Regions from separate parts of the Homo sapiens genome. Here regions 2 and 3 are each linked to region 1. The links are contacts of gene promoters, found by promoter capture Hi-C in blood cells and fetal thymus (Javierre and others, 2016). All regions are on one chromosome and are shown on one strand. Each heading gives the region's core, a stretch centred on a gene start or on the middle of the fragment in contact. The rest is flanking DNA. Distances are from core to core; before and after follow the strand shown. Region 1 holds the start of ZNF14 (zinc finger protein 14). Region 2 has its middle 62 kb from the start of ZNF93. Region 3 overlaps LOC124904665 (a long non-coding RNA gene).

Region 1 (4,109 bases), core at 1,036-3,535:
GCTTGAACCTGGAAGGCGGAGGTTGCGGTGAGCCGAGATCACCCCATTGCACTCCAGCCTGGGCAACAAGAGTGAAACTCCATCTCAAAAGAAGAAAGAAAATATAAAAAAAGAAACCCAATACAATCAGGAAAATTATTTACAAAACACTGGCATAAAGCAGCTGTAGTTCAACTGGATACATCCAAACCATCAGGATGTGAAGATTCAAGGTCACGTATATTAAGCCTACTTGAATTAAGATGAGGAGACTCACAACTAGCTTTTGACCCAAGTACACAGACAGATAAAAGATATAATCTACAAATAACCACCTTAGAAAAACCATTATTTATTGATTATTTTATACAAAAATAATTAGTATTCCAATTCTGAAAAACTATATACTACACCTTTCAGGATAGGGTACCCAAACTAGATATGGTACCCAAACTGACATATCAGCATCAAAAGAATACCCACAATCAGCCAGGCGCGGTGGCTCATGCCTGTAATCCCAGCACTTTGGGAGGTTGAGGCAGGCAGACCACCTGAGGTCAGGAGTTCAAGACCAGCCTGGCCAACATGGTGAAACCCCATCTCTGCTAAAAAATAAAAGAATTAGCCGGGTGTGGTGGTGGGTGCCTGTAATCCCAGCTATGCAGGAGGCTGAAGCAGGAGAACTGCTTGAACCAGGGAGGCAGAGGTTGCAGTGAGCTGTGATCATGCCGTTGCACTCCAGCCTGGGCGACAGAGTGAGATTCCATCTCAAAAAAAAGAAAAAAAACAACAACAAAACTACCCACAATGACTCTAGACTTAGGAACCTTCCACTGGTTAATTGCTCAGAGAAAAACACACTGACCTATTACAACCACACGAGGAAAGAAAAAATCACAACATACACTTACAATCAGAATGTATCAAAGTGGTGTGTGTCATAAACATCACTCTCACAAACACCTCAAAGCTTACCACTTAGCCGGGCGCGGTGGCTCACGCCTGTAATCCCAGCACTTTGGGAGGCCAAGGCGGGCAGATCACAAGGTCAGGAGATCGAGACCATCCTGGCTAACACGGTGAAACCCCGTCTCTACTAAAAATACAAAAAAATTAGCTGGGCGTGGTGGCGGGCGCCTGTAGTCCCAGCTACTGGGAAGGCTGAGGCAGAATGGCTTGAACCTGGGAGGCGGAGCTTGCAGTGAGCTGGAGATCGCGCCACTGCACTCCATCCCGGGCGACAGAGCGAGACTCCGTCACACACAAAAAAAAATGCTTACCACTTATATACGGAACAAATGACATACAGAGATTTTGCATCATCATGGCACTCCAACATAGGCGAAATCTCTTGGGTAGAAACCACACAGATAAACACACACAAACAAGAAAATTTAAAAGAACCTGAACAAGCTCACAATTAATTCCATCCAGAAACCAAAGAAACTAAAAATCGCACACATTCACGCAAGGGAACAAAATTACCCAGAGCGAAGGGAAACTGGAATTAAGGGTGGCTAGAATTAATATTTGATCAAGGAGTCCAAAGGGAAGAAACACAAACTTTCTGATCAGTTAAGATAAGGAGTCCCCTTCCCCGCAGTTCGAAAAGAAAGCCCACATTCAGAAGGTCAAAAACACCCCCAGACTTGAGTGCTGGGAGCACTAGAGGGGGTCAGTCCCTGGTGATGAGGGCAGGGGCGTTTGAACAGCCACAGGAACCTGACCCCGGCAGCAAGGACCTAGCCAGGCTTCGGTTCTCACAAGTGAGGAAACGCACCCGTGGATTCATCGTAAGGTTTCCAACCAAGTGGTTTCTTAAACGCACAAACCCCACAGACCGAGATGGGATCTCCCCAGGACCCTCCCGCTGTCACCGAACAATCCGGGGAGACGCGGGGCTGCGGGCGCAGAGCTGCCCATAGAGGGCTCCAGGACCGGGGGCCGAGGTCGCCCCGCGGGGACGGGACAGGACGCTGGGGCTCCCGGCTGCGGGTCCAGCTCCCACAGAGAGGACCGAGGGCCGAACTGCGCCCGCGGTGGCCCCCGGGTCTGCAAACCCCGGAGTTGACTGCAAGGAGGTCCCCGGCCTCGGCCACAGACGGTTCCAACCAGAAACCTCCCCTCGGACACTGGCCCCGCACACTCACCATTTCCCAGCGTCCGGGAAGTCACGGTGTCCTCCCTACGGATCTGTCAGTACCTGCAGGTCACGGCGCGACAAAGGATGCGCTAGAGCCACCTTCGGCCTTCAGGAGCAGGTGAAACGCAATCTTCCCATGGGCCAGGAATGGCGACGTCCGCACTGCGCAGGCCCAGCGTGGCGCCGCTCACATCTTTTCAGCTGAGGTCCTGATTGGACAGATCCAATGGCCCCGCCTCTTTATCACTGAGTGACAGCGGAGCAGGAAGGGGCGTGGTTGAGCTGGCCTGGCTTCAGTCCGGCTTGTCCCCGCCAGGACGTTTGCGTTTAAACCGAATGTGTTCTTTGCCTCCCATCCATTTTAAGTGTTCTCTTCAGTACTGTTAAATACATTCACATTGTGAAGCCAATTTCCAGAATTGTTTTCATCTTGCAACACTGAAATCTGTCTCGTTGCACAACTCCCCGTGCACCTCCTTCCCTCAGGGTCTTTTGCAACCTCCATTCCATTGTCTGAGTTCGTGAATTTGACTGTGGGAATCTCATGTAAATGGCGTCATAAAGTATTTGTCCTTTCCTGACGTGCTTATTTCACTTAGCATAATGTCCTCGAGCTTCACCTTGTAGTATGTGTTAGGATTTATTTCTTCTTTTTTTTTTTTTTTTTGAGACGGAGTCTCGCTCTGTCGCCCAGGCTGGAGTGCAGTGGCGCATCTCGGCTCACTGCAAGCTCCGCCTCCCGGGTTCACGCCATTCTCCTGCCTCAGCCTCACGAGTAGCTGGGAATACAGGCGCCCGCCACCACGCCCGGCTAATTTTTTGTATTTTTTTAGTAGAGACGGGGTTTCACTGTGTTAGTCAGGATGGTCTCGATCTCCTGACCTCGTGATCTGCCGGCCTCGGCCTCCCAAAGCGTTGGGATTACAGGCGTGAGCCACCACGCCCGGCCTCTTCTTCTTTTTTTTTTTTTTAAGAGACAGGGTTTTGCTCTGTAGCCCAGGCTGAAGTGCAGTGGTGTGATCATTGCTCACTGCAGGCTTCAACTCCTGGATTCAAGCAAGCCTCCAACCTGAGCCTCCTAAGTATCTGGGACTACACGCACGCACTACCAGGCCTGGCTAATTGTTTTAATTTTAATTTTAATTTTTGGTAGAGATGTGTGTCTCCTTCTGTTGCCCAGGCTGGTCTCGAACTCCTAGGTTCAAGCAATCCTCCTGCCTCGACCTCTCAAAGTGCTGGGATTACAGGTGTGAGCCACTGCCACCGGCCAATTTACTTCTTTTTTTTTCCTTTGGAGATGGAGTCTCGCTCTCGTTGCCCAGGCTGGAGTGCAGTGGCGCTCAGCCACCGCAACCTCTGCCTCCCAGGTTCAAGTGATTCTCCTGACTCAGCTTCCTGAGTAGCCAGGATTACAGGCGCCCACCACTACTCCCGGCTGATTTTTGTATTGTAGTAGAGATAGAGTTTCACCATGTTGGCCAGGCTGGTCTCGAACGCCTGACCTCAGGTGATCTGCCCTCTTTGGCCTCCCAAAGTGCTGGGGGTGTGAGCCACCTCGCCTGTCCCCAATTTACTTCTTTTTAATGCTTTATTTAAACATTTTTTAAAGAGTTCCTAAATTAGTCAGTTCCTAAATCTACATACAATAGAATAGAATTGTATTCTATTGTATGTAGATATCAAATTTCTGGATTTTTCTGGATCTATTTATCTTTCTTTCTTTTTTTTTTTTTGAGACAGTCTTGCTCTGTTGCTCAGACTGGAGTGCAATGGCGTGATCTCGGCTCACTGCACTCCACCTCCTGGGCTCAAGCAATCCTTGTGCCTCAGCCTCCTGAGTAGCTGGGGTTACAGGCATGTGCCACTATGCCCAGCTAATTTTTGTAATTTTAGCAGAGATGGGGTTTCGCCATGTTGCCCAGGCTGGTCTCAAACTCCTGGGGTCAAGAGATCTGCCCACCTTGGCCTCCCAAAGTGCTGGGATTAC
Region 2 (4,109 bases), core at 930-3,429, 230 kb after region 1:
CATACAGGATGGGCCAGGAGAACTGCAAGTAACTGTCCTAGATCAAAATGCTAATTGGAGCCTTAGGCAGAAACAAGGTGGGAAGAGGGTACCTTTCAGGTTTTGGACCCAGAAACTGCCAGAGGCCGGAAAAGCTTATACCCCTTTCAAGAAGCAATTGTTAGCTTCTTATTGGGCTTTGCTGGAAACAGAACACCTCTGCTTCAACCATGATGTCTTTATGAGGCCCGAAACTCCTATTATGACTTGGCTCATGAGTTCCCCCAAAACCCACCAGATAGGGCATGCCCAAGAAGGAGCATCATAAAATGGACGTGGTACATACAAGACCAGGCTAAGCCAAAACCAAAGTGGGTATCACTTTTACATGAGGATGCACAAAACCTGCCAGCTCAGGAAATCATGGAGCAAGTCCTGCAGGTAGGGAAGGAAATCCCCTCACTCCCACCCAGTGGGGCAAATCCTTTGAAGAACTAAGCCCAGAGGATCAGAAACATGCTTGATTTACAGACGGATCCGCCAAATACATTGGTGGGACCTGATGCTGGAAGGCTGTGGCTTATAATCCTGTTAAAAACATAAAAATTTCTGATGAAGGAAGGGGTGGGAGCAGCGAGTTAGCTGAACTAGTAGCCATCCTTCAAGCTATTCAGGAGGAAGGCAGAGGGATTTCTCACTTGTATACCAAATCTTGGTCAGTACCAAATGGTCTTTCTACCTGGAAGCCCCAATGACAATGAAACAAATGGTTAATTCAGAATAAAGAGGTTTGGGGACAACAATACTTGGAAGATATCTCAATCCATTGCACACTGCCATTATCACTGTTTCACTGTTATCACTGTTTCAACAAGGTTTCACCATGTTGGCCAGGATGGTCTCGATCTCCTGATCTCGTGATCCGCCCACCTCAGCCTCCCAAAGTGCTGGGATTACAGGCGTCAGCCACCATGTGGGGGAAAGAAAGAGAGATCAGACTGTTACTGTGTCTATGTAGAAAAAGGAAGACATAAGAAACTCCATTTTGATCTGTACTAAGAAAAATTCTTCTGTCTTAAGATACTGTTAATCTGTAACCCCAGCCCCAACCCTGTGCCCGCAGAAACATGTGCTGTATTGACTCAAGATTTAATGTATTTAGGGCTGTACAGGATGTGCTTTGTTAAAAATGTCTTTGCAGACAGTATGCTTGGTAAAAGTCATCGCCATTCTCCAGTCTCCCGTACCCAGGGACACAATGCACTGCGGAAAGCCGCAGGGACCTCATGCCCAAGAAAGCCTGGGTATCGTCCAAGGTTTCCCCCCACTGAGACAGCCTGAGATATGGCCTCATGGGAAGGGAAAGACCTGACCATCCCCCAGCCCGACACCCATAAAGGGTCTGTGCTGAGGAGGATTAGTGAAAGAGGAAGGCCTCTTTGCAGTTGAGATAAGAGGAAGGTATCTGTCTCCTGCTCATCGCTGGGAATGGAATGTCTCGGTGTAAAACCTGATCATACATTCTATTTACTGAGATAGGAGAAAATCACCTTATGGCTGGAGGTGAGACATGCTGGCGACAATACTGCTCTTTACGACACTGAGATGTTTGTGTAAAGTCAAACATAAATCTGTCCTACGTGCACATCAAGGCACAGCACCTTTCCTTAAACTTATTTATGACACAAAGTCCTTTGCTCACATGTTTTCCTGCTGACCCTCTCCCCACCATTACCCTGTAGTCGTACCACATCCCCCTCACTGAGATGAAAGAGATAGTGATCAATAAATACTGAGGGAACTTAGAGACCAGTGCCGGGTGCGGGTCCTCCGTATGCTGAGCGCCGGTCCCCTGGGTCCACCTTTCTTCCTCTATACTTTGTCTCTGTGTCTTATTTCTTTTCTCAGTCTCTCATCTCCACCTTGTGAGAAACACCCACAGGTGTGGAGGGGCAGGCCCCCTTCACCACCATGTGCAGCCCTGTTTTCCATGTTGATGCCCATGCATCTCTGCTTTCTCTTGACAGGCTATTTAATCAGCAGGAAGAAAAACAGGCCACAATTTCCACCATAACAGTAAACTTGAATGTGGATGAATAGATTACAATGTGTTCAAGCCTTGCAAAGAGAGGCATTATAGTGTATGGTGGTGTAATTGATAGTGATTACCAGGGAGAGTTAAAGGTCATTTTATACAATAACACTCCAGATTCTTTTGCTATAAAACTAGATGCTGGTTACTCAATTTTTAGTGGTACCCTTGTCAACAATTAACTCCTGAGGAAATCTCTGCCCCAACAGAGTCTACATACAGAACTGGGGGATTCAGATCCCCTGGTACAGGTAGCTTAAATCCTGGAGCCAAAATATGCATACAGCGTCCATCACATCTTGACCCTAAGGCTGGTGACCTTGTAGCTATGAAAGCGGGAAATGAAGGCATAGTACAATTTCCTAAAGATGAAAAATAAATCATGTTCCACTCCATTTTTGTTATTACAGGGAATAACCTATCTACTAATGGTCAGCACCTGTGTCTTTGTGTCTGAAGCCAAGAATAAATTCATCACCTGGGTAGCCACCGCTGCAACTGAAGCCATCCACAGTCAATGTTGGCTATATGTTGAGTTGCCGGAGGCTGCCTGGGATGGGCTATCTTGAAGAATCGTCCCTGACAACATTTCTGAATGGCTATATTGTTACCAGTAGGGCCACAACAACAACAACACTTGCAATCCAACCTGGGCTTCCTTTCACCACACTAAGCAATCTATCTTTGCCAGGTCAGACAAAAGATGAACTCCACCCTCACCTTGCATCAAAAGTCTTGATATCTTGCCCAATAATCCTGGAACAATATACACTGAAAACCTGCTGTGCTGGTGGCTGGATTCCATACAGGCTTCGCTTTTTCTGGAGGCCTTAAATGGCTCCTCTAATGTTTCTTTGGGGTTTCTTCAGACATTTGTCAACACATACTCCAAATCAACAACACTGCCCCCCAATGAACCACAATCTCTTTCCTATTTTAATAACACATTAGTACACTATGATTACAGTAGCTCCATTGCTGTCCCCTGGGGGGCCCTCTGGGTATGCAGATCCTATGGGTTGCAATACTGTCCCTGCATTGGATGGGAAGATGCACTTGAGGGTGGACATTAATTCCATTCACTATCCGGGATAATATTCCCTTCCCCAGTAATCTAGATGCTTACAAACACCACTGGTTACAAATGTGCTGGTCTCCCTGGTGGTGGTACCCTATCACAGTATTCTCCCCTGCCACCAGTACATTCCTCCTTCACCAACACATTAAAATATTTACCTTACATGTAGAAAAAGCTCTTAATGATAGTAGCACTGAACTTGTGTTGTTATCAGATGAATTTGCTCAGCTGCGTACTATTGTGTTGCAAAATCAAATGGCATTAAAAATGCTTACCGCAGCCCAAGGAGGGGTTTGCACGTTACTGCAAACTGAATGTTGTGTGTATATCTCTGGTAATTCTCACAATATGACTCTCCTTGGAAAGCCATGCTGAGTGTGGTTTTTATTAATTGTGCTTTTAATTCTCCTGTGTTACCCTGTATCTGTAATCTATATCAATTATGCCTTTTCCATGTATCTGAGAGGGTATTTTCCTACAATTGAGTATCCAATTGAGGCCAAATGTGGAGGGAAAGTTAAATATTAAATTTGAACTAAATTGAATGTGGACACAAATAATGGTCACCAAGTCCTGGCAGAGGTTGTGTGAGCCCCTTGAGGCGTTCATCCAGTGCTGTTTCAGAAAAAAATCTTTATTTCAATCTATTCCTATACGTTAGAAATTGAAAAACAATAGGCAATCCCAAAAACAAGTTGGCCTTTTTGTGTTCCTTGAGCCCAGTCACAAAGGGCCCTTGTGACTGAGCCTCATGCCAAACAACTTGTTACAAAAAGAGCTAGGGTCCAAGACCGCACCAAGGCTTCAAGAGACCTCTCCTCGTTTGTGCATGGACGGGTGACCGCCTCCGGAGCCCAGGCTGTTTCTTCCTGCTGTGGTGACAAATCCTCCATAGTATGGTGAGTGCGGTGTCTGACTCTGGAGCCCAGGCTGTCACTTCCCTGTCTGGTGACAAATCCT
Region 3 (4,109 bases), core at 908-3,407, 210 kb after region 1:
TTTTAAGAACTGGTTTTCTCTTTGACTTTGAGACTTCTTACCTGTGTTTTCCGTTGTATTCATTTTCACTCATACCTACCTGGGGGGTTGGCAATCATCTCATGTCTCTTCAGAGCCAAAGGTTTTTTTCCCTGCTCCAGATGAGTGATCAGGTCTGGCTTAGAGACAACAATACTGTTGTATTAAGAATAAATAACATGAATCGTGCTCATATTCTCCAATTACAAGCTAGTAATGTGTTCAGTAGAGAGGATGTGATAAAATATTCTAGTAAATTAATTACAAAATACTAATCTATAACAAATTTCTAAATATTTAGAAAATGCTTTCAATTTGTAGGTTTCTTAATTTTACTATCTAATACTACTGAATCAAAAATTGGTGGCAATTAGATTTTCAGGTGGGGGCAAGAATACTTTGTCACTAAATTTTTGGAATTACCACTAATTTAGAGTGAATTATACAGCTCAAATCAGGAATGTGGAAAGTTTGGATTAAGATGAAACATCTTGAAGAGACTTTTCTGCATGAGCAAATTTTGAAGATTTTCTGAAAAAAGGGGATCTGAAACTCTTTTATGCAAAGAATAGATTACTAAAAAGTTCTACATAAAAGAGAAATAAAACCTTTAGGGTATATTATGAATTATGTCTTAAAGTTATCCTCAACAAGAAAGACCATATTTCCATAGTTCTCTAACATCACATTCGTATACAACTTCCGCTGTACAGTGTCCAGGCAATGCCACTCCTCCAGAGATAATTCTATGGCCACATCTCTAAATTGCAATGGTCCCTGAAGAACACACACATTTTTACCAAGTGGCCAGGTGTGGAATTTTTAATTTGACTTAAGGTGAAATGAGAGAGTAAAGAGAAGTGGTTCTGACTTATAGCACTGACTAAAATTATCCAATAAAATAATTTTCAAAACAGAAATATTATTCTCTAACTATGATAAAAAAAAAAAAGCACCATAAGATCCAGAACAACAGTTCATATATTTTATTTTTCTAGATAATAAAGTATAAAATTAAGGGCATGAACACGAACATGTACATTTTTGAGTGCTATATTTACATCATACGGAATGAGTTGTGAATATTTTTCAGATGGAAAAGACATTCACTTAGGCATTTCTCAAATTTATTATGTACAATAAGCTGAAGACCTTATGCAGGTTTTTTTTTTTTTCCAAGAAGATCTGGAGTAAGTCTGATTTACGTATTTATTTCCTTTTCTTTTTTATTTGAGACGGAGTTTCATGCTTGTTGCCCAGGCTTCTGTGCAGTGGCATCATCTTGGCTCACGGCAGTGTCCCCCTCCTGGGTTCAAGCAATTCTCCTGCCTCAGCCTCCTGAGTAGTTGAGATTACAGGCATGTGCCTCCACGCCCAGCTATTTTTGTATTTTTAGTAGAGACAGGGTATTCTCCATGTTGGTCAGGCTGGTCTCAAACTCCCAACCTCAGGTGATCTGCCTGCCTTGGCCTCCCAAAATGCTGTGATTACAGGCATGAGCCAGGGCTCCCCGCTGATTTTTTGAATTTCTAACAAGCTTACCAGTAATGCTAACGTTTTTGGCCTAATAAGGATATTTTGTCAAAGATCCAGTAAGTGGTAGAGCCTGTGTTTTCCCAGTTTTTCTAGCCTGTAAACAAAGATAAGAGCCTTCATTTTCTAAAGAAAAATATGTAGAAAAAATAAAAGGAGAACTGCCAGATTAAATGTGATCACTTGTGTAGAGCAGCTGCATAAAGATAATTATGAAGAGAAAAATAGTTATCTCTACAGTGAAAAAAATCAATCAGCTATTTCACCAAGTGAATCATTAACCATTAACTGCACTAGGACAAATTTTTATGATGTGCTACTGCACACAGAAGAACACAGCATCACTGTTGAAATATTCCTCCCCAAAACAGTAAACTAGTCTGAATTTAACCATAAACAACAGTTTATGCAAACTTCAAAATACAGGTAACTCCTATGTTCTGTAATTTTTAGTAGGAATTTTAATTAGGCTTCATTTAGCACCCTAGAGAGCAAGTATCTCCTAATAATTTTTTTCAGAACTTTCTGGGTAATAAATGCCATTCCATTTAAATCAGCATTTTCTTAATCCTCTTCTGCATAGAGCTAATGGAACACACAGCTGGAGCCTCAACATTACATGTTCTCCATCTTTACTAAGGGCCACAGTTTTCCCCAATAGAAACCTTGAGTATCCACATCTTTCCATGTTCAACAGCCACAAAGGGAACATTTTTAATATTGCAGGTCATAAATTCTTGCGGAGCATTCTGCATGGCATATAAGAAGCTATGACGTACAGAATGTAGAGAAGTCTGTGGGACATAGGACAGAAACGTTTTCCAGAGACCCTTGACTATCATAAGAATTTTAAGAAGTAGTTAAACCAAACTCCTTAGGGAGGAAAAACACAAGTAGAGAAGTAAAGGTTTGTGAGTACTAAACGCATGGCAGTCCAGGAGGCAGAGTGGACACAGCTCTTCATCTGACACATGTTTACCTGAAGAAAAGCCATTTTTTTCTTTCTCCTCCTCCTCTGGAATTCCTTCTCAGATGAGATTCTCTGGACAAGTTACACCTGCATATGGAGAATATGCCTTTAAAGGTGTCAGTACCACATTTACCTGCTAGTATGACATCAACTGGCAGAAAAAGAAAAATTCACTTACTGCTGTCTTTTAAACAGAATAGATTCAGGAATAATGAGCTGCTCCATGAAGACAAAAATATAAGCTTCTCCTTTCCTGTCCTCAGGTGCCCTCCCCTGCCAGAGACTCCAGCAATTTCTGCTACAGTAATGGAAATATGCACCACACTGACCTGTCCCTACCAAACCCAAACAGAACAGGCCCTGTGACCACCCTTTAGTGCAAAGGTGGAACTTAACTCTCGAAAATGTATTTTGAAGCCTTCATACTTGATTCTGGCCTCACCTTAGAGTCACATGAGGCCCTTCATTAAAACAACATGGATCCTTCCACCCAGAACAATAAACAGAAGCTGTGGGGAGGGCACAAGTATAAATCACTTGGTAATTTTGGTCCCACATTATGTAAGGTGATTCTGCAGGTTTGAAAAGGGTTTATGAAAGAGTGTTTTAAACAAGTCTCCTGTCAATGCTGATGTTGCTCCCCCTTGGCTCATTATTAGCATTAGAGAAAGCAGGCAGAGCACAGGGTCCCTTACACTTAACACCCTTCTCACAACCAAATACTTGTCGTGCAAATAAGGACAACCCATCTCCATCCTAAAGTTTTATATTCTTTGCTGGCTCTTTAAGTTTATAGAGGAAACAGAAGGCAGCAATGTTTGAATAAGTCTGGGTTTAAAAAACAACATGTACACATGTACTACTGCAATGTTTATTAAGCAAGTACTATGTGCTCAAGAGTATGATACAGAGCACTGTGCTGGGCATAACACATTATGTGATTTAATTCTCATAATACCCTGGGAGCTAGTACTAAGGGTTTAGGAATTTTCAGGATTTAGATAAAGGGCCCAGCATTTTTATTCTTCTGTTTCTCTGTCATCAAATTTTTTAAAAAGTTGTAAGAAATAAAAGCTAAATATAGACAGATAGAAAAGATATAGAAAGGATGAGTTTAATGCAGTTTAGAGAAAATTTTATTCTGTTTATGTTTACTTTTTTGTTACTTGGGGAGCAATTACTGGATCTGCAGGAATAGAAAACAAGTTGCTAAATAGAATGTCTCTGCAAGCACTGGTTTTAATAGAAAACTTAAAAGCTAAGACTCTATAATACATACTTTATTTTTCCCATTCATCTGCTTTTGGGTTTCAGGAAATTGTGAGCACCAGCTCTAGAAAGGCAGCAGGATTCACCAGCCAAAACTCTTGATCTCTACTAATCAGTTCTGAGAGCAAGACTCCAGGGTATGGTCAGACCTAAATAAGGCCTTCAAAAAGAATATATGTAAACAAGTCTGGGGCAGTGTGAGGACCCTATGTAGAATTCTGTTCTCTATGTCACTGGGGTACTACCAGATTTGTTTCTTCTAAATGTCCTAAAAGAAACTTAAATCCAACAGTTTCTGTAATTTAAATATTTTCTAGCC

The links. The method cuts DNA at HindIII sites, captures the fragments that hold promoters and counts their contacts. A CHiCAGO score of 5 or more calls a contact.
Region 2: a contact is called between a fragment that was not itself captured here and the fragment with the promoter of ZNF14 in region 1, in 1 of 17 cell types (naive CD4 T cells). The highest score is 5.5, in naive CD4 T cells.
Region 3: a fragment that was not itself captured here is called in contact with the fragment with the promoter of ZNF14 in region 1 in 1 of 17 cell types (non-activated CD4 T cells); the score reaches 5.1 in non-activated CD4 T cells.

The regions. Positions count from the first base shown.
Region 1 is chr19:19,730,827-19,734,935 of GRCh38, forward strand. It overlaps ZNF14 (zinc finger protein 14), which reads right to left and starts at 2,286. Exons shown (of 4, transcript NM_021030.3): 1 at 2,130-2,286. The coding sequence starts at 2,132. RefSeq lists a silencer at 1,792-1,941. The HindIII fragment of the contact is 5,906 bases long and covers 948-4,109 here.
Region 2 is chr19:19,960,638-19,964,746 of GRCh38, forward strand. It overlaps the pseudogene BNIP3P12. Among named protein-coding and RNA genes, the nearest start is that of ZNF93, 62 kb to the left of the region's middle. The HindIII fragment of the contact is 4,095 bases long and covers 133-4,109 here.
Region 3 is chr19:19,937,036-19,941,144 of GRCh38, forward strand. It overlaps LOC124904665 (a long non-coding RNA gene), which reads right to left. Exons shown (of 3, transcript XR_007067170.1): 1 at 2,700-4,109; 2 at 2,531-2,627; 3 at 1,483-1,648. Among named protein-coding and RNA genes, the nearest start is that of ZNF93, 38 kb to the left of the region's middle. The HindIII fragment of the contact is 1,208 bases long and covers 1,554-2,761 here.